Regions from separate parts of the Homo sapiens genome. Here all the other regions are linked to region 4. Evidence: promoter capture Hi-C in 16 types of primary human blood cells and fetal thymus (Javierre and others, 2016). All regions are on one chromosome and are shown on one strand. The core of a region is centred on a gene start or on the middle of the fragment in contact, and the rest is flanking DNA. Distances in the headings are between cores, read along the strand shown. Region 1 has its middle 16 kb from the start of C1orf116. Region 2 overlaps PFKFB2 (6-phosphofructo-2-kinase/fructose-2,6-biphosphatase 2). Region 3 holds the start of YOD1 (YOD1 deubiquitinase). Region 4 holds the start of CR2 (complement C3d receptor 2). Region 5 overlaps LOC107985251 (a long non-coding RNA gene). Region 6 overlaps LOC107985251 (a long non-coding RNA gene). Region 7 overlaps C4BPA (complement component 4 binding protein alpha).

What was found. The method cuts DNA at HindIII sites, captures the fragments that hold promoters and counts their contacts. A CHiCAGO score of 5 or more calls a contact.
Region 1: a fragment that was not itself captured here is called in contact with the fragment with the promoter of CR2 in region 4 in 5 of 17 cell types (monocytes, M0 macrophages, endothelial precursors and 2 more); the score reaches 8.1 in monocytes.
Region 2: a contact is called between a fragment that was not itself captured here and the fragment with the promoter of CR2 in region 4, in 3 of 17 cell types (naive CD4 T cells, naive CD8 T cells and total CD4 T cells). The highest score is 7.5, in naive CD4 T cells.
Region 3: a fragment that was not itself captured here is called in contact with the fragment with the promoter of CR2 in region 4 in 8 of 17 cell types (naive CD8 T cells, naive CD4 T cells, total B cells and 5 more); the score reaches 14.2 in naive CD8 T cells.
Region 5: a fragment that was not itself captured here is called in contact with the fragment with the promoter of CR2 in region 4 in 1 of 17 cell types (naive B cells); the score reaches 6.0 in naive B cells.
Region 6: a contact is called between a fragment that was not itself captured here and the fragment with the promoter of CR2 in region 4, in 3 of 17 cell types (endothelial precursors, total CD8 T cells and total B cells). The highest score is 5.7, in endothelial precursors.
Region 7: a fragment that was not itself captured here is called in contact with the fragment with the promoter of CR2 in region 4 in 2 of 17 cell types (total CD4 T cells and neutrophils); the score reaches 5.7 in total CD4 T cells.

The regions. Positions count from the first base shown.
Region 1 is chr1:207,015,329-207,018,028 of GRCh38, reverse strand. No RefSeq gene overlaps it. Among named protein-coding and RNA genes, the nearest start is that of C1orf116, 16 kb to the left of the region's middle. The HindIII fragment of the contact is 3,148 bases long and covers 1-2,700 here.
Region 2 is chr1:207,065,510-207,068,209 of GRCh38, reverse strand. It overlaps PFKFB2 (6-phosphofructo-2-kinase/fructose-2,6-biphosphatase 2), which reads right to left. Exons shown (of 15, transcript NM_006212.2): 9 at 504-711; 10 at 1-47. Among named protein-coding and RNA genes, the nearest start is that of PFKFB2, 14 kb to the right of the region's middle. RefSeq lists a silencer at 455-686. The HindIII fragment of the contact is 7,385 bases long and covers 1-2,700 here.
Region 3 is chr1:207,048,769-207,051,468 of GRCh38, reverse strand. YOD1 (YOD1 deubiquitinase) reads left to right here and starts at 261. Exons shown (of 2, transcript NM_018566.4): 1 at 261-781; 2 at 1,746-2,700. The coding sequence starts at 439. The coding sequence ends at 2,449. It also overlaps a transcript of PFKFB2 not described here. RefSeq lists an enhancer at 127-697. The HindIII fragment of the contact is 159 bases long and covers 1,335-1,493 here.
Region 4 is chr1:207,452,997-207,455,696 of GRCh38, reverse strand. It overlaps CR2 (complement C3d receptor 2), which reads right to left and starts at 1,369. Exons shown (of 20, transcript NM_001006658.3): 1 at 1,221-1,369. The coding sequence starts at 1,278. RefSeq lists silencers at 811-920, 1,301-1,530. The HindIII fragment of the contact is 5,194 bases long and covers 1-2,620 here.
Region 5 is chr1:207,173,716-207,176,415 of GRCh38, reverse strand. All of the region lies in intron 1 of LOC107985251 (a long non-coding RNA gene), which reads left to right. It also overlaps the pseudogene C4BPAP1. Among named protein-coding and RNA genes, the nearest start is that of LINC02942, 65 kb to the left of the region's middle. The HindIII fragment of the contact is 4,272 bases long and covers 1-2,700 here.
Region 6 is chr1:207,156,790-207,159,489 of GRCh38, reverse strand. All of the region lies in intron 1 of LOC107985251 (a long non-coding RNA gene), which reads left to right. Among named protein-coding and RNA genes, the nearest start is that of C4BPA, 54 kb to the right of the region's middle. The HindIII fragment of the contact is 1,386 bases long and covers 568-1,953 here.
Region 7 is chr1:207,120,520-207,123,219 of GRCh38, reverse strand. The region is part of intron 4 of C4BPA (complement component 4 binding protein alpha); the gene reads right to left. Among named protein-coding and RNA genes, the nearest start is that of C4BPA, 18 kb to the right of the region's middle. The HindIII fragment of the contact is 3,337 bases long and covers 1-2,700 here.

The sequences.
Region 1 (2,700 bases), core at 154-2,653, 440 kb after region 4:
AAATAGCACGTTCTTTTAAATTTGTTCATCTCTGGAATGAATCAGGCATTAGTTATCAGGAGGCAAGAAGTACATTGGATGAGGTCTCTAAATCTCTTCAGGTGTAGGGACCTGTGAATTGCTGGAGTCATGACCACTGTCACAATCATCACTGACTGTTAGCATACACATGTGGTAAAAACAGATTACACTCTAATTCCAGGCTGTCACTCTCTCTTACTCATTACCTAGTTGGATTGTTGTCCTTATCACCACTTGCCACGTATCCAGAATTCAAAATAATGTGAAACAGGCAGAGGCCTGGACCAGGTGAGATTTAGTGGGTCACTTCTTCTCACTCTCAACATGAGGGACTTGGTCTTTCTCCTAGATCCATGCTAGCCCTGAAATGTATGTTTCGGTAAATCCAAACAAGTTAGGAAGATAAACACCTGCCAAAAATAATCAAAATATAGTCTAAAATAAACTAAACCTCAGAGAACTTGAGAACGGAAAGGAAACTTTTAGGTTCTGTAATTCAACCTCCCACCTAAAGAGGAATTATCTCTATAGTTGGAGATACATATGTTTCTTCCTTTCTTTCTATCTACCTATCTATATCTATGGTCAGAAATAAACACACACACATATATATATATGTATATATATATACATGTAGGACCAGGAAGACGGGAGGTTCGGTTTGGGGCATACTGAGTTTGAGGTTGCTGTGGGACTTCTAAGCTGACATGGCCTCTGGCATGTCAACTTAGATAGCTATATCTATATCTATATCTATATCTATATCTATATCTATATCTACCTCCAACTATGTATATATAGAGAGAGATATGGTCAGAAATATAGTTGGATAGATGGATGGAGGCTTGATGGATGGATGGATGGATGAGTGGATAGATGGAAGAAGATAAGAAAGGAGGGAAGAGGAGGGGAGGGAAGAGAGATTGAGAACATACAGTGGCCAAGAGCATAGGCTCAGGAGCCAGGCTGCCAGGGTCTCTGCACTTCAGTTTCCTTTTCGGTGATTACCTTTTGCATCTTTTAACTTTCTTTGTTGTGTGGTTCAGGGAACTTTATGCCGCCCTACAGTTATTGTTTATCTTAAAAATGGAGAGAAAACGAACTTAGATTATAACAGGATGGAACCTCGTAAAGTAAGGCAATAATAATACTTACCCCTTGCAGTTTTTATGAAAATAGAATCAAATGAGATACTACATATAAAAAAAACCATAGCACACTGCTGAATAAATGGTGTCTATTCATATTATTATCATATAGACGTGTAATTCAGATGCCAACTGGGACCCCCATCAGGACTGGTTAATCTTGGCCTGCACCTAGATTCCTCAGAACTGAAACAGTCAAAGCCCTCCTCCAGTTTTAAGAGCCTCCTACAGTTCTGTCCTATCTGCATCTGTGTGTGCTGCTTCGGAGCCTCCCCACACCTGCCTCCTTCCCAATCCACACTCTGCCATCCCTAAGCCACTGTCTCTGTCTCCGCTCACTATTGGTCTAGACCCAAAGCCCAGGCCTTTCACTGATTCCCATGGGAAATCAGGTTTCGTTAAGCATTTTGTTATTTTCTGAGTTTTTTACTGAAGGTCAGTGTGGGGGATGCTGGGGGACCTATCACAACCACATGGCCTCACATCACCTCCCCTTCCACCCTTTCTTTTTCTTTTCCAACTTATAGCACAACCAGCAAATCCTTCTCACCTCCACCCGACACTTGAGGGCTCTTAGGATCTAAGCGTCAACCCCCAGAGACTTTTCAAAAAATTCCTCTTACGTGAAGAGAGTTGCTGCGCCAAACTCTGTACATCTCTACAGATGGAAAGATCATTCTGGTGGCTGGGTTGGGAGGGGACTGAGACAGGCTGGGATGGGTGTGAAGGGAACAGTTAGAAAGCTACTGCTGTAGTCTGGGAGGGAGGCAGTGTGGCACTGTGCAGCTGTGGTGGTGGCAGAAAGAAGAAAAGAAAGAAGGTTTGAAGATGTTCATCACTGACATGATTTGGTGGACCTATTACTGAGGGTGAGGAAGAGGGTGAGGTCATGAGTCATGTTTTGGTTTCATTCCTTCGTGATTGGATGGATACTAATACCACTCACTGAGACATAGACCATGGCGAGAGGCTCAGATCTGGGGGTCCCCTGCATGGGTCTGTGTTTGGACATGTTGAGAGTACAGCGCTCTCTACCTCCTGGGCCTTCATGCCTGAAAGTAGGACTGAGGCTACAGCACAAGTTGACTTGCAACATCAACACCTCCTCCAGCTCACACCAACCCTGCCACACTCTGCTTTAGTGGGTAGGCAGGACTCTGTGAAGGCCTCCTTTGGATTAGTTCCTGGCTCTGTTCAGTTGCTTGGATCTGAGGAAATATTTGTCATCTCCTCTTTGAGTGACTCTCCTGCCCCCGTCCTTTAGGCAGGGGCTCCTGAAGGATCTGTCTTCATGTTCTCTTATTAAAAGCATCAAGCTGGTCCCAGCTCTGAGACTCTACCTTGGCTGTTCCTTCTGCTGGAGTTCTCCGCTCCTCATCTTTACATAGCTAGTTCCTTCTCATCCTTTAAGTCTCAGATTAAATTTCAGATTTTCTGAGAAGCCTTTGCTGAATGCTCAAGACGTACATGAGATATATATTTATGGACGCATCAGGAAATCTTTTCAGTGCTGTGCAGATGGTCGTGACTC
Region 2 (2,700 bases), core at 56-2,555, 390 kb after region 4:
TCTGTTATTTCCTGTTCCTCCAGAAATTTCCTTAGAGCTTGGGCAAACTGGGGTTTAAAAATGAAAATTAAGGGTAAAAAGAAAACACACAGACACACACACACACACACACACTCAACACACACATACACAAAGCCTGCTAACTTGGTCTGTAAGGGACAACGTGCATAACCATGGTCAAAATCCATAAGGTGCTACATAGTTAATATAAACCCAAAAGGAAATGAACTTTAACTGGAGCACCCTGTACATTGCTAAGTACACAAGTTGTGCCCAATGAATATCTGATGGTTGAATGATCACAGCAGAAATGGGTCAAAGTTATCTACTCTTTAACACAGAGCTAGACGCAGTGAGCAAGAACACACCTTGAGCACTTGCCTGACTATGAAACCACAGCCTACGTCCAAATGGGATTTAAGTAAGGAGATAAAATATATGACCTCAGTCATGCCCTTCTAACTCTAAGCCTAGAAAATCCAGTGTGCTGAATAATTACTCACCTGCTTTCCCCGCACCGAGAGGCCAGAGTCACCCCCAATCTTCCCCAAGAGATTGAACTCGCTTTCTCCATGCCGGCAAAGGTAAATGGTGCGAGGCTGGACGTGGATATTCATGAGGTAGTAGACTATCTTGCTCTGGATGTAGTCCTGGACTCTGTTGACTAAAAATCGCTGGCCCACGTTTATCACCTTGATGAAAGAAAGATCCCTGGGACAGGAAAGGAAAAAAAAAATTCCCTAGGTAAGAAGATCTGAGAATAAGAATCAGAGGGAAAAGGATTTCTACAGGGACTTGCAGGCTCACAGCTGCTCTTCCTCCCCTCCTCTGTCACACCCACGTTTATGGAACCAAATGGTAGGAGATTAATTACTCCTTAAAACCAAGATGAAGTACAATTTCCTGAACTTCTAGTAAGTTTGTACCATTTCCTCAGTGCCTGTAGTGTGACAAGTAATGTAGATAAATAGGATAAACAGAATTCAGCCTTCCCATCAGGGGCTAGACTAGGTGACCTGAAGATTTTGCTAAGCCCAAAATTTGGTGAGAAGAATAGGCCCCTTTTGAGGCAGTTAAGACCTGGCCAGAATATGGCACGACGAGCAACGAGGGGAAGGGAAGAGGCAGCAGAAGCACAGACAGAAATGTCTATATACTCCCTGCATCTACCTAATCATGCTTCTCTCAAAGACACTTTCAGACATTGCTTGCTTTGAGGCCAACATGAGATTGTTCTCTTTATAAAAGTCATAAGTGTGGCTGGATGCGGTAGCTCATGCCTGTAATCCTAGCACTTTGGGAGGCCAAGGTGGGTAGATCAGGAGATCAGGAGTTTGAGAACAGCCTGGCCAACATGGTGAATCCCCATCTCTACTAAAAATAAAAAAATTAGCCGGGCGTGGTGGCGGGTGCCTGTAATCCCAGCTACTCAGGAGGCTGAGGCAGGAGAATTGCTTGAACCCAGGAAGGGGGAGGTTGCAGTGAGCCGAGATCGTGCCACTGCACTCCAGCCTGGGCAACAAGAGCGAGAGACTCCATCTCAAAAAAAAAGTCATAAGTGCTTATTTTAAATCAAAAAATCAGAAAAAATGATGGAAGGATGCAAATCACGCATCACCCTACTACCAGAGATAACATATACAAACATACACATGTATATATATGTAGATCTTCTGTATGTTTTTCTAGGTGGGACTTTGTTCCAACTGAAGAATACTTTTATGCCATATCTAGAGGTGGTTTTCAGCCTCTGAATTAAGGGGATTCTGGGAAACCCACTTGAAGGAACTGAAAGGCTCAAAACATTAAACAGACCACTGTATTAAGTGTGCCATGCACATTAAATGTGCCATTTGCTTGGCTGCAGGTCTGTATTATGTGAATAGAGCTGTTAACTGCCCTGAATGCATGCTCTTTCATGAGGCCACATTCTTGCAGATTTCCATGTGTACACCATCTTTCTTCAACATAGACTTGGTTTTGTTATGGCTCATATACCTCACACATGACAAGTTAATCTATAGTCTACACCATACTGCCAACAAATGCTTCCATAGTAACAACAGCTGGCATTGATCAGACATTTCTCTGAGTCAGGCATGTTCTTGAGGGCTTTGCATGTTATATATAGAGAGAGATAGATATAAAAATATGCAATATGTAATATATATGTTATGCTATAATATGCATGATATACACACAAGCATTAATATATGTAAAATATCATATAATATATATAAACTTTAAAAACTGATGACACATCTCCAAAGGGTATCCTACAACACCCCCATTCAGATATGGAGCAGTGATTCTCAACCAGGGATAACTGTGCCCCCCGGGGAACCTCTGACATGTCTGGAGACATTTTGGTTGTCACAGGTTGGAGGTGTTACTGGCATCTAGTGGGCAAAGCCCAGGGAAGCTGCTGAACATCCTACAATGCACAGGACAGGTCCTACAACAAAGAATTACCCAGTTCAAAGTGCCAATAATACTGAGATTGAGGAAATCATGCTCTAGAGACTGGAGAGAAAAAATTGATGATAAAAAACACTTCCAGCCAGGCGCAGTGACTCATACCTGTAATCCCAGCACTTTGGGAGGCCGAGGCGGGTGGATTACTTGAGCTCAGGAGTTCAAGACCAGCCTGGCCAACATGGGGAAACTCTATCTTTACTAAAAAAAAAAAAAAATAGCCGG
Region 3 (2,700 bases), core at 165-2,664, 400 kb after region 4:
GCAGCCACGAGTCTAGTCACAAGTGTGATTGTTTTTGACTGGTCCTTTGACTCACTGACCATTCCTGGCATTCGTTTGCGTTGTGAACTATGATTCTGTTTCTCCTGGTGTAGTCTGGGTGTAGTGTGGAAGCCCCAATTTAATAATTTCCGACCTCACTAAGTGCAAGGTCACATTCCAATCTCCAGACCTTCATTCAGGAACTCCTTCCCCCGCCCTCTTTTCTTGAGCATATATGCTACCCACGCGGAGGGCACCTCACTCGCTCTATAGGTAGCAAGACCCGTTGTCCTTTAGGAATACGGAGGTTTACATCTTCGTTCTGAGGGTGGGGGAAAAATCAGTTGTCACTTTAAAAGAGTTCGCGCTTGCTAAGGTACTAAGGCAGAAGCCGCACCGAAGCGTCGCGATAACTGCAACCACCCGCAACTTCTCGCGATGTTTGGCCCCGCTAAAGGTCGCCATTTTGGAGTCCACCCGGCGCCTGGTTTCCCCGGCGGCGTCTCCCAACAGGCTGCCGGGACCAAAGCTGGCCCCGCGGGTGCCTGGCCTGTGGGCAGCCGGACCGACACGATGTGGCGGCTCCGCTGCAAGGCCAAGGACGGCACCCATGTTTTGCAGGGGCTGTCCAGCCGGACCCGGGTGCGGGAACTCCAGGGCCAAATTGCCGCCATCACCGGGATCGCCCCCGGCGGTCAGCGAATCCTCGTCGGATACCCTCCCGAGTGCCTGGATCTCAGCAATGGGGATACCATTCTGGAAGACTTGCCCATCCAATCTGGTAAGGAATCAGGGCTGGGGCCAGGGAAAGTCCCGGGAGGATGGAGAGGGGCGTGAGAGAGAACAAAACACCAGTCAAGGCAAGGTGGCTGTGAGTCGGCGGGGGGGCTTTGAGGCCAGGGGCGAGGATAGATCAAAGAACAGAGAATGCTGACGGGGGCCAGGGCAAGTGTCTAGCAACTCCTTGTCTTGACACAGGGTTGAAAGGGAACCCAAAGCCTTGAAGACCCCCTTCCCCATTCCGCTTTCTGGTCGGCTTTGAAACTATCCCATTTTGTTTTCCCTCGGCGTCCACAAAAATATAAAGTAGGGCCTATTTTCTCTGTCCTTATGTCTCTTTTTCCCTATATCACCGATGAGATCTCAAGGGTGCAGGATTTTTTTTTTCTTGATTCATTTTTGCAGTCCCCTTCGTAGATACTTCGTTTGACAGGCATACTCATTTTCGAGTTAGCTTTTAAAACACCCACTGAAAGCTCTTTCAATTTCTAACCAGCAGCAGTTATTTCTGTGCCATATCAAAACTTGAACATCAGTGTTTATAATTAAAAGCTTTCAGTTGCTGTATCAAGGATGTTGTAAACACTCTAGAGTAGATAAGTTTCCGGAGAAGGAGAACCCCCTAGCGGCCTACTCTGTAGTGAGCACCTTCTGTAAAATACTGTATAAGGAAAGGAAATTTTGTTTTTGAAATGTATCTTTTTAGGTAAGCTTGAAGTTGTTTACTCCAGACCCCTTCACTAAATTGGGATGCAACCTCAAGTGTTTTTTGTTCTTTTTTCATCTTTATGAAAATTCAGTGAACAAAGATTCTTACTGGTAACTTACTTGCAAAACTGTATTCTCCTTAGTAACCCCAGTTTATGCTTTAACTCCTTCAGTTTGTAATTTACAGACTTGGCTAGAGAACACTCGGTTTCTTCTGTAATTTCTTTGCAGATCGGGATTTGTTTTATTTTTAACAGGTGACATGCTGATCATTGAAGAAGACCAAACCAGGCCCAGAAGTTCACCTGCATTTACTAAACGTGGTGCTTCTAGTTACGTCAGGGAAACTTTGCCTGTGCTTACCAGAACCGTGGTCCCAGCAGACAACTCTTGCCTCTTTACTAGTGTGTACTATGTCGTCGAAGGAGGAGTCTTGAATCCAGCTTGTGCCCCTGAGATGAGACGCCTCATAGCACAAATTGTAGCAAGCGATCCAGACTTCTATAGTGAGGCAATACTGGGAAAAACAAATCAAGAGTACTGTGACTGGATCAAAAGGGATGACACTTGGGGAGGAGCAATAGAGATATCGATTTTGTCCAAGTTTTACCAATGTGAAATATGTGTAGTGGATACACAGACAGTAAGAATTGATCGTTTTGGGGAAGATGCAGGATATACCAAAAGGGTTCTGCTTATTTATGATGGCATCCACTATGATCCACTTCAGCGTAACTTCCCTGATCCAGATACACCTCCTCTGACCATTTTCTCCTCTAATGATGATATTGTTCTTGTACAAGCACTGGAATTAGCAGATGAAGCTAGAAGAAGGAGACAGTTTACTGATGTCAACCGCTTCACCCTGAGATGCATGGTATGTCAGAAAGGATTAACTGGACAAGCAGAAGCAAGGGAACATGCCAAGGAGACAGGCCATACCAACTTTGGAGAAGTGTGACCTATGCATGAATGAGGGTTGAAGCCTACTACCTCACACATCCAGAAGGCTCTGGGTTTTCCAATAAGCTATGGTAACCCTAAAGAACAAAGGATACAATGCTTGAACCATCCTTTTAACTTAAAACCACTAAGACACTGAAATTCCTTGTTAAGATTAAAATTAGTGTGCAAGTTTACAGATGTGTGTCTACAGTGGTAAACTGTACATACATGCCTCTTTCTGCTGGAGTGACAGAATAGGTGATCCTT
Region 4 (2,700 bases), core at 120-2,619:
CATTTGTTCAAAGGGAGTTAATATGCAGAAAAAGAAAAGAGATGAAGATAATGGTCTGGAGAAAGGTTTAAGGGTCAGGAGACAGTAAAATGTCAGGAAAGCAAAAAGTTGTAATAAACTAATATGTGCTGTATTCCAGACACCTCAATAAGCTGGATGTCCATAGAAACAATTGGACACCCAGCTTGTTAGCTTAAATGCTGGCTCCATAAAATCAAGTCTGTACAGGAGGCTTATTACTGATATTTAGTAGTAACGACTAACATCCAACTTTCTTTGCTTAGTTTCATCTGTGCTCAGGGCAGCTCAGTGAGGTGGAAGGCCAGTTAATCACTAGTTTCATTTTACAGATGAAGAAACTGAAGATCAGGGAGCTAAATGACTTGCCAAAAGTCACCCAGTTATTGAGGTCTGCACACAGTAAACGTCTTATAAACTAGGAATGCACGGTACCGTGGAGATAATTAGAAACTTAGACCCATCCTGTAGCCAAGAGACGCTAATCTTAATTATAATCTTTCTTTAAAATCAAGCCAATCTGGAGGAAAAAAAGATATAATAAACGGTGAATGAGACCTTTGCGGACGTCCACACCATTACAGTAGGTTAATAACAAGAAGAAAACAATAGTTTTAATCCATGTCTCAAAAATAACTACGGATGGTTAATGTTTAGGATCTCTACCAATATCACATTAGAGTTCAGAAAATCTGAGACCCATGCTTGGGAACCAGGTCTTACTCTTATTTAGGGAAGGGAGCCGAGGTTCTGCCGCTTTTGCTGGGCAAGAGCGCGGTTCGGGTGTACAGAAACAGCCTCACGTGGCTAGCTGGTGCCTCATGCAGTGGGTAGGTTTCCCGTGGCGAGCGGTAGCGCTGACCGCCGGCCAGAGAGCGATGAGCACCTGCAGAATCCTGGGGGCGGGGAGCCCGGCAGGAGACCGCGAGCACCCGCACGCCGCCAGCCACACCGGGCCGACCAGACAGCGCCCCTCTGTGGCGCAGCCTCCAATTCTGGAGGTCCCAGCTCCCGGAGGGGCCAGTGGGGACAATCAGGACCAGGCGGTTTATTGCAGTGGTCCCTCAAAGCTAGCGGGAGGCGGACACGCGTCGAGCACTGCCCCCACCGTCTCGCTTTTGGCCCCCTGCTTTGCATCGCGGCACAGAAACTTTCCCTGCCCGGGACGCGTCCCCACCTCCGTGCTCCCCCTCCCAGCTCACCGAGGACCCCCGGTGCGACGAGAGCCAAGAAAACCCCGAGCAGGCCCGCGGCGCCCATGCCACGGCCGAAGCCCCCGCGGCGGGATGCGTTCCGAGACCCGCGAGCGTCCGGCAGCTCTGGGAGGGCAAGGCTGGAGCAGCAAGCAGCTGTGAGCCAGGAGAGGCGGGCCCTTAAATAGTGTCCGGCACACGTGCTAGTTCTGAGCGCACACCTGCAGGCGGCCTGGGGGCTGACGCGGCGCCGGTGAGGGTGGGACAAGCGGGAGGGACGGCCCGGCACGAGGTGGGCGGGGAGCTCTGAGCCACTCTTTGGCTCAGACTCACCCCTCGTTGCGGTGGCTTCCCCACTTTTTTGACCACGCAACCCACTACACTCACTTGTTTCTCTTACTAGAACTTAAACAAAACTTTCACAAGTTAGTACTCACCCTTAGTAATCTACAATGTTCGTCCTCTGTGCCATGCTGTGTTATGCTAGACTAGGCTAGGCTATCCTATTCTTATTAGAAATCCACCAAACTCATTTCAAAACCTATTAGTGGATTCATCTCCCAGTTTGAAAAAGCAGTGTAAGTTTACTTAGGGAATTTAGGAACAGCAGCCACTTCTGCTCTGTTCTTTATTTTGAAGTAATCTCTACAGAAAAGTTTCAAGAGTACTGCAGAGAATTCCCATATACTTGTCACCCAGATTCTCTGCATGTTAACATTTTGCTGTATTTTCTTTACCATTCTCTATTCTTTCTCTATAGACATATATGTACATATATGTGATTATATAATTATAATTATATAATTATTACTTTGGAACCATCTAGCATTTATTCCTATTCTAAATGGTTCACTAAGGACTTTCTGTTCCATAACTAGAGTGCAATGATCAAAAATAAGAACTTAACATTGACACAAGACTATAAGCTACCATCTGTATTTAAATTTTGACAATCATCTCAATAACCTGTGTTATGGTAAAAACAATAACAACAATAGAAACCAACCTTTGTTTTTCCTGGTCCAGAATCATTTCAGGATCATGTATTGTGTTTGATCATTATGCCTTCCCCCCACCCCCAGTTCTTTATTCTGGAAAAATGTCCTCAGCATTTTTGGTATTGCATGACCTTTACATTTTTGACGAATACACCACAATTATTTTTGGAGAATGACTTTTAAGTCCGTTATCTATTATAATAACAAATTACCCTGAAGGTAGTGGTGTAAAGCAAGAATAAACATTTATGATCTCACAGTTTCTGTGGGTCGGTCAGGTGGTTCTGGCTTGGGATCGCTCAGGAGATTGCAGTTAAGACACCAGCTGGAGGTGCAGTCATCTGAAGGGTTAACTGGGATAGGCGAATCCACATCTAAGATGGCTCACTTACCAGCCTTTGGCTGGAAGCTTCATTCTTCACCACGTGGATTTTGCCATAGGGCTCGCTGCTTGTGTGTTGAGTGTCCTCGTGACATGCCAGCTAGCGTCT
Region 5 (2,700 bases), core at 73-2,572, 280 kb after region 4:
GAAAAAAATTTAAAATCAATTCAAAAGGAGGGAAAAAAAAGAATGTAAAACAAAAAACGTATATAGCAAATAGATGGTAGATATAAATTCAATTATATTAATTATTACACTAACTGTACACTGACAAGTGCTCTAATTAAATAATGAAAATTGTCAAGTAGGATTAAAATATCCAACTCTATCCTGCTTCCAAGATACACTTAAAATATACAATTACAGAAAGTACAAAAACAAAAGACTAAAAGAGGATAAACCATGTAAACACTAACTCAGATAAAGATGTCAGAACTATATTAATGTAAAAGTAGAATTTTAAAGATAAAACAGTTATAGTAATAGAGTCATTTTATAATGATAAAAAGTGAAATTTATCAGGAAAATATATCATTCTAAATTTGTATGCATCTAGCAATGTAGTCTCAAAATATACAAAGCAAAAAATGATTTGAAAAAACTAAAAAGATGGCCACGTGTGGTGGCTCACACCAGTAATCCCAGCACTTTGGGAGGCCGAGGTGAGTGAATTTCTTGAGTCCAGGAGTTTGAGACCAGTCTGGACAACATGACAAAACCCCATCTTTACAAAGAATACAAAAATGAGCCAGGTGTGGTGGTGTATACTTGTAGTCCCAGCTACTGAGTCAGGAGGATGGCTCGAGCCCGGGAAGTTGAGGCTGCATCCAGCCGAGATCATGCCACTGCATTCCAGCCTGGGTGACAGAGCAAGACCCTGTCTCAAAACAAGCAAGCAAGCAAACAAACAAAAACTCTGAAAAGATAAAAGACAAACAAAACTTTTTTAGTAACCGAGAGAACAAGTAGACAAGAAATAAATATAAATATGGAAATAGATTTGAACAAAACCATTAAAATTAGATCTAATTGATGTATATGTAACATTGCACCCAACAACTGCAAAATATGCATCTTTTCAAGTGCACACAGAACATTTATAAAAATTAACTATATGCTATGAAGTGAAGCAAGTCTCAGCAAATTTCAAGGATTGTGCTCAACATTTTCAATATCAAAGAAGATACACACACATATATACACAAAACAAAGTTCAAGTCTTCTTACTCTCACACTCATTGGAAGATGTCCATGTCAAATTTTCCTGACAAGTCACAGTCAGAGGCTCATCTAAAACAGGTCTATAGCCAGGTTTGCATAGATATTTCAACTCAGTTCCAATTTCAAATATTTCGTGATCACTTAGGTTGTAGTCATTTCTCTCCCAGGAAGCATAGGAAATGTCCGGTAGGACAGTGCAACCATTCACTCATAAAGAAAGCACAAGGGTGAAAGAAATGTGTTACTGGGAATGGCAGAGTGACTCGTGAGCCTGTCACAAAAAAGGGATATAACATAGTCATTCAGCAAAAAATGAGATGGTAAAGATTAAATGGGAATTCCAGAAAAAGACTCGGCAGCACCACTGCCCAATAGACTAGTGTCTATTAAGTGCATGTGTCTACTAAATGCATGTGCCACTGGAGAGGCTGTACTGAGAAGCATGCCATGGTGTAGGAAGGGGACAGTTTCTAGGTGCTGGGTCAACTCCGTAGGAGCTTAGTTTTCCTTTCACATCACTGCACTTTAGAATGGTTGGTCTTCAGGGGAAGAATTAGGATCACTAGAAAGACACAGCAAAAATTTGCTCCAAGATGAGAATGACTTTCTAATCTCATTGCCTAATGGGGAATTAAAATAAGAGGCATTCTTCTTGACATCATGACACTATCATCTGCAACTTCATGCTTTGGCCTCAAACCAAGCCCCATATAACTTTTGCAGCTGGGCCTTTCATCTTGTATTTTTTTTTTCTATTCAACAATATGCTAAAGGTCAGTGTGAATCAAAGAGAGGATATGTGTCTGTCAAATTGTGTATTTATTGAATTTCATTACTACACATTTTGAATGGCACCTAAGTTTATGTGATAGCAGAAGAGACTAGATAAACCACAATGTAGTGGTGGCTTCCACCTCCAATTAACTATGTGAGCTTGTGCCAGTTACTTAATCTTTCTTTTTCGGTTTTCTCACCATTAAAATTGGATAAAAAATAGCAACTTCTTGGAATAGTTGTAAATATTGAATGAGTTAATTGATGTAAAGCACTTAGAACAGTGTTTATAACATAGAAAATGCTCAATAAATGCTAGCAATAAATCATTAATGTTATAAATGATCTGTATGTATTTACAACATGAAGGTCTCAAGACCAATATTGGCCCATAGAGCATTTCTATGCAAATTATAAAAAAGAACTGTCTTAAAGGAATCTTACTTCCATTGTTCAAAAAATTCTCGTAATACATTGATTTTGTTAGACTGAAACACTTTACTATTGTCTCCTGGAAAATTTTTATAGCAAATATATAAGTCTACAATATCTATGAAGTCATTGGTCTCATGACTATATATTTGGAATTCTTCCAATAGCGCTAAGAGATTATTAACAAAAAAATCTTCCTTTTGACAAGAAAAGTACCAATTTATCTTAAAATGATTATTGGGAGTAGAGTTGGCTTGTGCCTGTGAGCATGCCACACCTATATGTCAGGATAGTTTTAGATCCAAATATTGGAACTCCATCGTAGTCCATACTCACTGGATATGCAAGAGGGAACAGAAGGATACCACTCATTATTCGTTTCACAATAGATTAAACTGCTGCCTCTGAGGATATAACCTT
Region 6 (2,700 bases), core at 11-2,510, 300 kb after region 4:
TAAAATTTCATGTCTTAAATATAAAAGCCTTCTTTACAAATCATTTAAAAATAAAATTGTCAAACACATGAGGAAACAACACAAACAAGTAAATCAAAACAGAAGAAATATAAATGTGCATGCAGAGTGGTTTATTGAGGCGTTCTTACAGGAACATTGTCTGTAAAGGAAGAATGAGAAGGAAGACAGAAAAGCAAAACTTTGAAGCAGTTGCATCAGAGACTTCAGAGCATCCTTAAAGTTGGACTGGCCCTTCAAAGGTGTCCAGGATTAAGTAAAGCTGGGCTTTTGTACCACTGCACCAACCAATCAATAAATGTGGGTGTCCCAGAGAAAGACTGCCACCTTGAGTGAGGCAGCTCCCCCAAAATATCTGTGTTTGCTAAAATGCAGATTCCCAATCCCCTAATCAAATATATCTGATGAGGCTTCAATGCCTGAATTATTTTTAAAATGCCTGAAGTTATTCTCATGTTCAGCAAATGCAGGAATCACTAGTCTAACAGAGACGAAATCCATTCATTTTTCTATGTATTCCAGGGTCTATCTTTGATTCAAAACAAAGCTTTAGTAGCTGTACCTGGATATCAGTAGCTTGCTTAACTTCTTGTAAAAGCATCAGTCTTAATTTATGTTTTAATAGATCAACTCAGTTCTTATTAAAGGCTGGTATATTTGGCTATTTGAAAAACAACTTTGCTATTGTCCATGTTATTGGCATTGTCCTAATTATGTTATTCACTGTTTCTTATTAAATGGCCCATGGGATAAATTTTAATTTTCTATTTTAAGTTTTTCTATTTTAATTAGTGAAAATAAGCTCCTCTTTCAGAACTGTTTCTTTTTATCAACTAGTAGGAAATATATAATCATTTTTCCTTGACTGAAAATAAACTCAACAAAATTGCTTATAAGTCTAAATTTTAGTGAATTTGCTGCTACTCTTCCTGTACTTCCTCTTCCATAAGTCTCGCTGTAAGCAATCCTTGAGTATTTTGACTTTGCATTTTTATTTTAGCATCATTAAGTTATACGTGCCGTGCCAGTTATCAGTGCATTTCCTCTCACATCCAAACTAACCGTTTATTACAGCTCTGTGATAATGGATGAAATTCCCTTAAGTATTAATCCTTTACAGTGAGAATGATGTTTAATATTCTCATTAGAGGATGCTTGAGGGACATTGCAGGAAGCAAGGATTCTCCTGCTGTTTCCTGCTGCTACATGATGGGTTAGTAAGATATATGGGGGTGGTCTGCCCCAGGCCCTCTTCCCAGAATGCACTATCCCCTGGCAATCTTGCAGTCGTGGACCAGGCTGGCTATCACCTCCCCGTGGTTCTTCTGACGGATACTTCTCCAAGACTCTTGCCACAACAGCACCCCTACTCCCTCTTCATGCCCTCACACCTGGCCACCTACTTGCCTATGTGCTTTCTCTGCCTTGAAGACTTGCTACTGGGGTCACTTTTCTGCACACCTGCCCATCTGGCCACTATCTGTGGTTCCCCTCACAGATAGCTCATGTTCCAGTGACCCCCAACCCTATCTGCAGGCTTATGCATGTAGCCACCAGCTGGAGCTCACCTATATTCTGCCTCTATTCTGGATATTTGGTTTCTACTTGCCCAATGACCACAGACCAGCTCTTGTCCAGGCAACTAGTGAACTTCTCTGGCATCCAGTGGATTGCTACTATACCTTTTTTAATGAAGTCTAAACCCCAGCCTTGGGAAGGGGCACCTCATTGCAGTTTGTCTCCCTTGAGTACCTTGCCTCAGCCCTAGAATACCATACAGAGTTTTCTTAAATTTTATAATTACTTTTTTATCAGAGTTTAGTAATTCTGTATATTAAATTTCCTCTATTTAAATCATTGTATGGTTTCTGTCTCCTGATTGGACCCAGGCTGAGACTCAGACATTTTGGGATAATCTAAAACTTGTAGTAAGCTTCTACTTGGTATTGAGATAGATGGCATATAAAGTTTCTGAGGGAAAATAATTTTATGGAAATAATTTTTAATTACATAATCTATTCAATGTATTTACATTTTGAATAAAGAGTATTATTTTTTAAATAAAGGAGAATTCACTATATCCCTAAATATGCAAATAGACTTGGTATCAGAAGGTCACTTATTGGTTAAAATTGGCAGAAACAGCACTAGGAAGGGTAATTCCTAAATTCAGAGAAATATTAGAAAATAGCATCCCCCTTTTATAGTGCCCATAAATATAAAATGGTAATGGAATCAAAATAGTCTCTCTTTAGTTATAACTTTTTTAGGGCAGAGCCGAGCCTCTAGCTTTCCAATTGCTTTCTCCCCACAATTATTAAACCTGACATAGAAAGAATTCACTTCGTTTTAATTTATTTTCTTGTGGTCAAAGAAGAATATTTGGCAGCAGGGGTTTCGTAGTTGACTTTTCTCAGGCTCAACTAAACTTTAGCACCAGATTCACATTCCAAATAACCTATACATTTTTTACTCCTGGTGTAATTATTCAGCACCACTGTGGGTGAACTTCTGAAGGAAATATATGAACTAGTTAGTCATAGTGTAAAGAAAAACATTTAACTTAAAGCAAGGAGACAAACGCAACTGCTGTGTCTTTTAGGGATAGGAGCAATCATTTCAGGAAAGAAAGTTCTCTCGATGTTGATAGTGCAAAAGTAATGTGGTGATGGAAATAGACTG
Region 7 (2,700 bases), core at 84-2,583, 330 kb after region 4:
ACAATTAAGTATTTCTTTACTTTAAAATTTCTTTAAAATGTAGTTTTTCCAACCTAGCCCAGAGACTAAGTGCAAAATATTGTTTCTGGTTGTTTCAATGGGAACACCTTAGTGTTTCAACAGCATCTTAGTTCTGATTCTTTTCACTTTCCCTTATGGAAGCCATACACAATAAGGAAAACAGAGGATAAAAATGAGAAAATCAACAAAAATGAAACAAACGGAAAAGATAAGAGAAAACTAATAGATATAGGTAACAAGCAAAAGAGAATCAACATAGGCTTAATTGGATAACCTAAAGAAGGAATCCAAGTAGAACAAAATAGCTTTTTAAAAATTTGTTTCAGGCCAGGTGTGGTGGCTTACTCCTGTAATACCAGTACTTTGGGACGCTGAGGCAGGTGAATTCTTTGAGACCAGGAGTTCAAGACCAGCCTGGCCAATATGACAAAACCCCATCTCTATTAAAAATACAAAAATCAGCTGGGCATGGTGCTGCTCTCCTGTAGTCCCAGCTACTTGAGAGGCTGAGGTGGGAGGATTGCTTGAGCCCAGGAAGTTGAGGCTGCAGTGAGCTATGATCGTGCCACTGCACTCCAGCCTGGGCAAAGGGAGTGAGACCTTGACTCAAAAAATATATATATTTCAAGTAAATGTTACTAAAATAAAACAATACGTCAATCTACATATTAAAATTGCACATCACATAGTAGCAAAAAATTAAACCAAGTGATTTCTACCAAAACAACTAAGAGTAAAAGTATTAGGTTTCAAAGATAAAGAATAATAATTTAGATAGTCAAACAAAGATCAAGCCATATGAGAAGAAATTTCAGATCAGTAGTATTCACTAGCAAAAGATAGTGCAGCAGTACCTATAAGACATCCAAGAAAAGAAAGGATGAGCCAAGGACTATATCAAGCCCCATTATCTTCTAGGTATCAATGCCTCAGATATATTATCTGAACCTGCAAGAACTCAAAGAATAATTTTCACTTGGGACTTTTTTTTGGAAACCACCATAGGACAAACTACAGCCAACCAAGAGATGACAATGGCAACTTTAGCCAAAATAAACAAAAATGGTAGCAAACATTGTACATGCAGATCTAAGAAAAAACAAATGTGATTTTAAGTGTGACTGAAGGAAATATAAATGTTATATGCTCAGACAGCACTGAAATAGTATAACTAAGAAAAAATAGAGACAGGGAAGAGAGGGTAAAATAAATTCCCTTATTGCCTGATCATTTGCAAAGTTGAGAATGAAAGCAACCATAGACACATATGAATATTTCACATTAATGTTAAATACAAAATAAACACTAAGATAATACAAATGATACAAATTTACTGGTAGGGAAGATAGAAGGGGTGAAGGAGGGGTAAGAATACAAGATAAGTTTATTGTTGTTTATAACAAGGAACCAATTTAAACTGTCTAAAGATAAAGAGGAATAATGATATTATATAAATTTAAATGTATATAGGTCACCACTAGAAACAAATTTTGAACCTTCCTAAATACCACCATATATTTTTAATAGAAAATAAATATACACATACATATATAACAAAATATGAAATAATATGATAAAACCAAGTCTATAAGTATCACTCACATCAATAAATGTAAACTCCTAATGAAAGAAAAACAGCTTTTAATTGGAGAAAATTCAGCTCTGTTATATACAGGAGACAAACCTAAAAGTGTTTCAGACAGATTAAAAATAAAAGACAGCATAAAATTATACCAAGCAAATTCAAAAGAAAACCAAAGATAATAATTTTAATATCCCATAAGTTGGACATCAGAACCAAGATTATTAAATGACACACAATGGGTACTTTATATGTTAAAGATTTTGATTTTCAGTGAAGAGCTATGAATCTTTATGTAGCAAAATATGTATGTAGCAGCAATTTTAATAAAACAGAAGTATATGAGACAAGAAAAATAATCAAAATATGCTAATTATCATTAAATTATTTTATAATGGTTAAAATAATTATAAAATTATTAATTTACTTTAACTCCTATCTTCATGCTTAAGGTATATAAAGACAAGCATAATAAAATATTCAAAACAACTTATCAAGAAAGTAGATCTGACTGAGAACAGTGGCTCATGCCTGTAATCTCAGCAGTTTGGAAGACCGGGGCAAGAGAATCCATTGAGCCCAGGTGTTCTAGACAAGCATGAGCAACATAACAAGACCTCATCTCTACAAAAGTTTGAACTTTAGCCAGGCATCATGGCACATGCCTGTAGGCCTAGCTACTCAGAAGGCTGAGGCAAGAGGATTGCTTGAGCCAGGGCAGTCCAGGCTACAGTAAGCCAAGACTGCACCACTGCACTCCAGCCTGTGTGATAGAGGGAGAACTTGTCTCAAAAAAAGAAAGTAAATCTGATGTGTATATAGCAAACTCTATATACTACTAATAAAGAAAATCCTTCATTCCAGTGCCTGTTGAAATATTAATGAAAGTTGATTGTATATCATGATGCGCCATAAAACAACTGTAAATTTTAAAACATAAAAATAAGTAACATTCTTGGTTAATCTAGAAGTCTTTTTATTTCTTTTATTTTCTGTTTTTTAAATTTTTTTATTCTTTAGAGATGGGTTTCGCTATGTTGCTCAGGCTGGTCTTGAACTCCTGGGCTCAGGTGATCTTCCCACCTCAACCTCTCAAA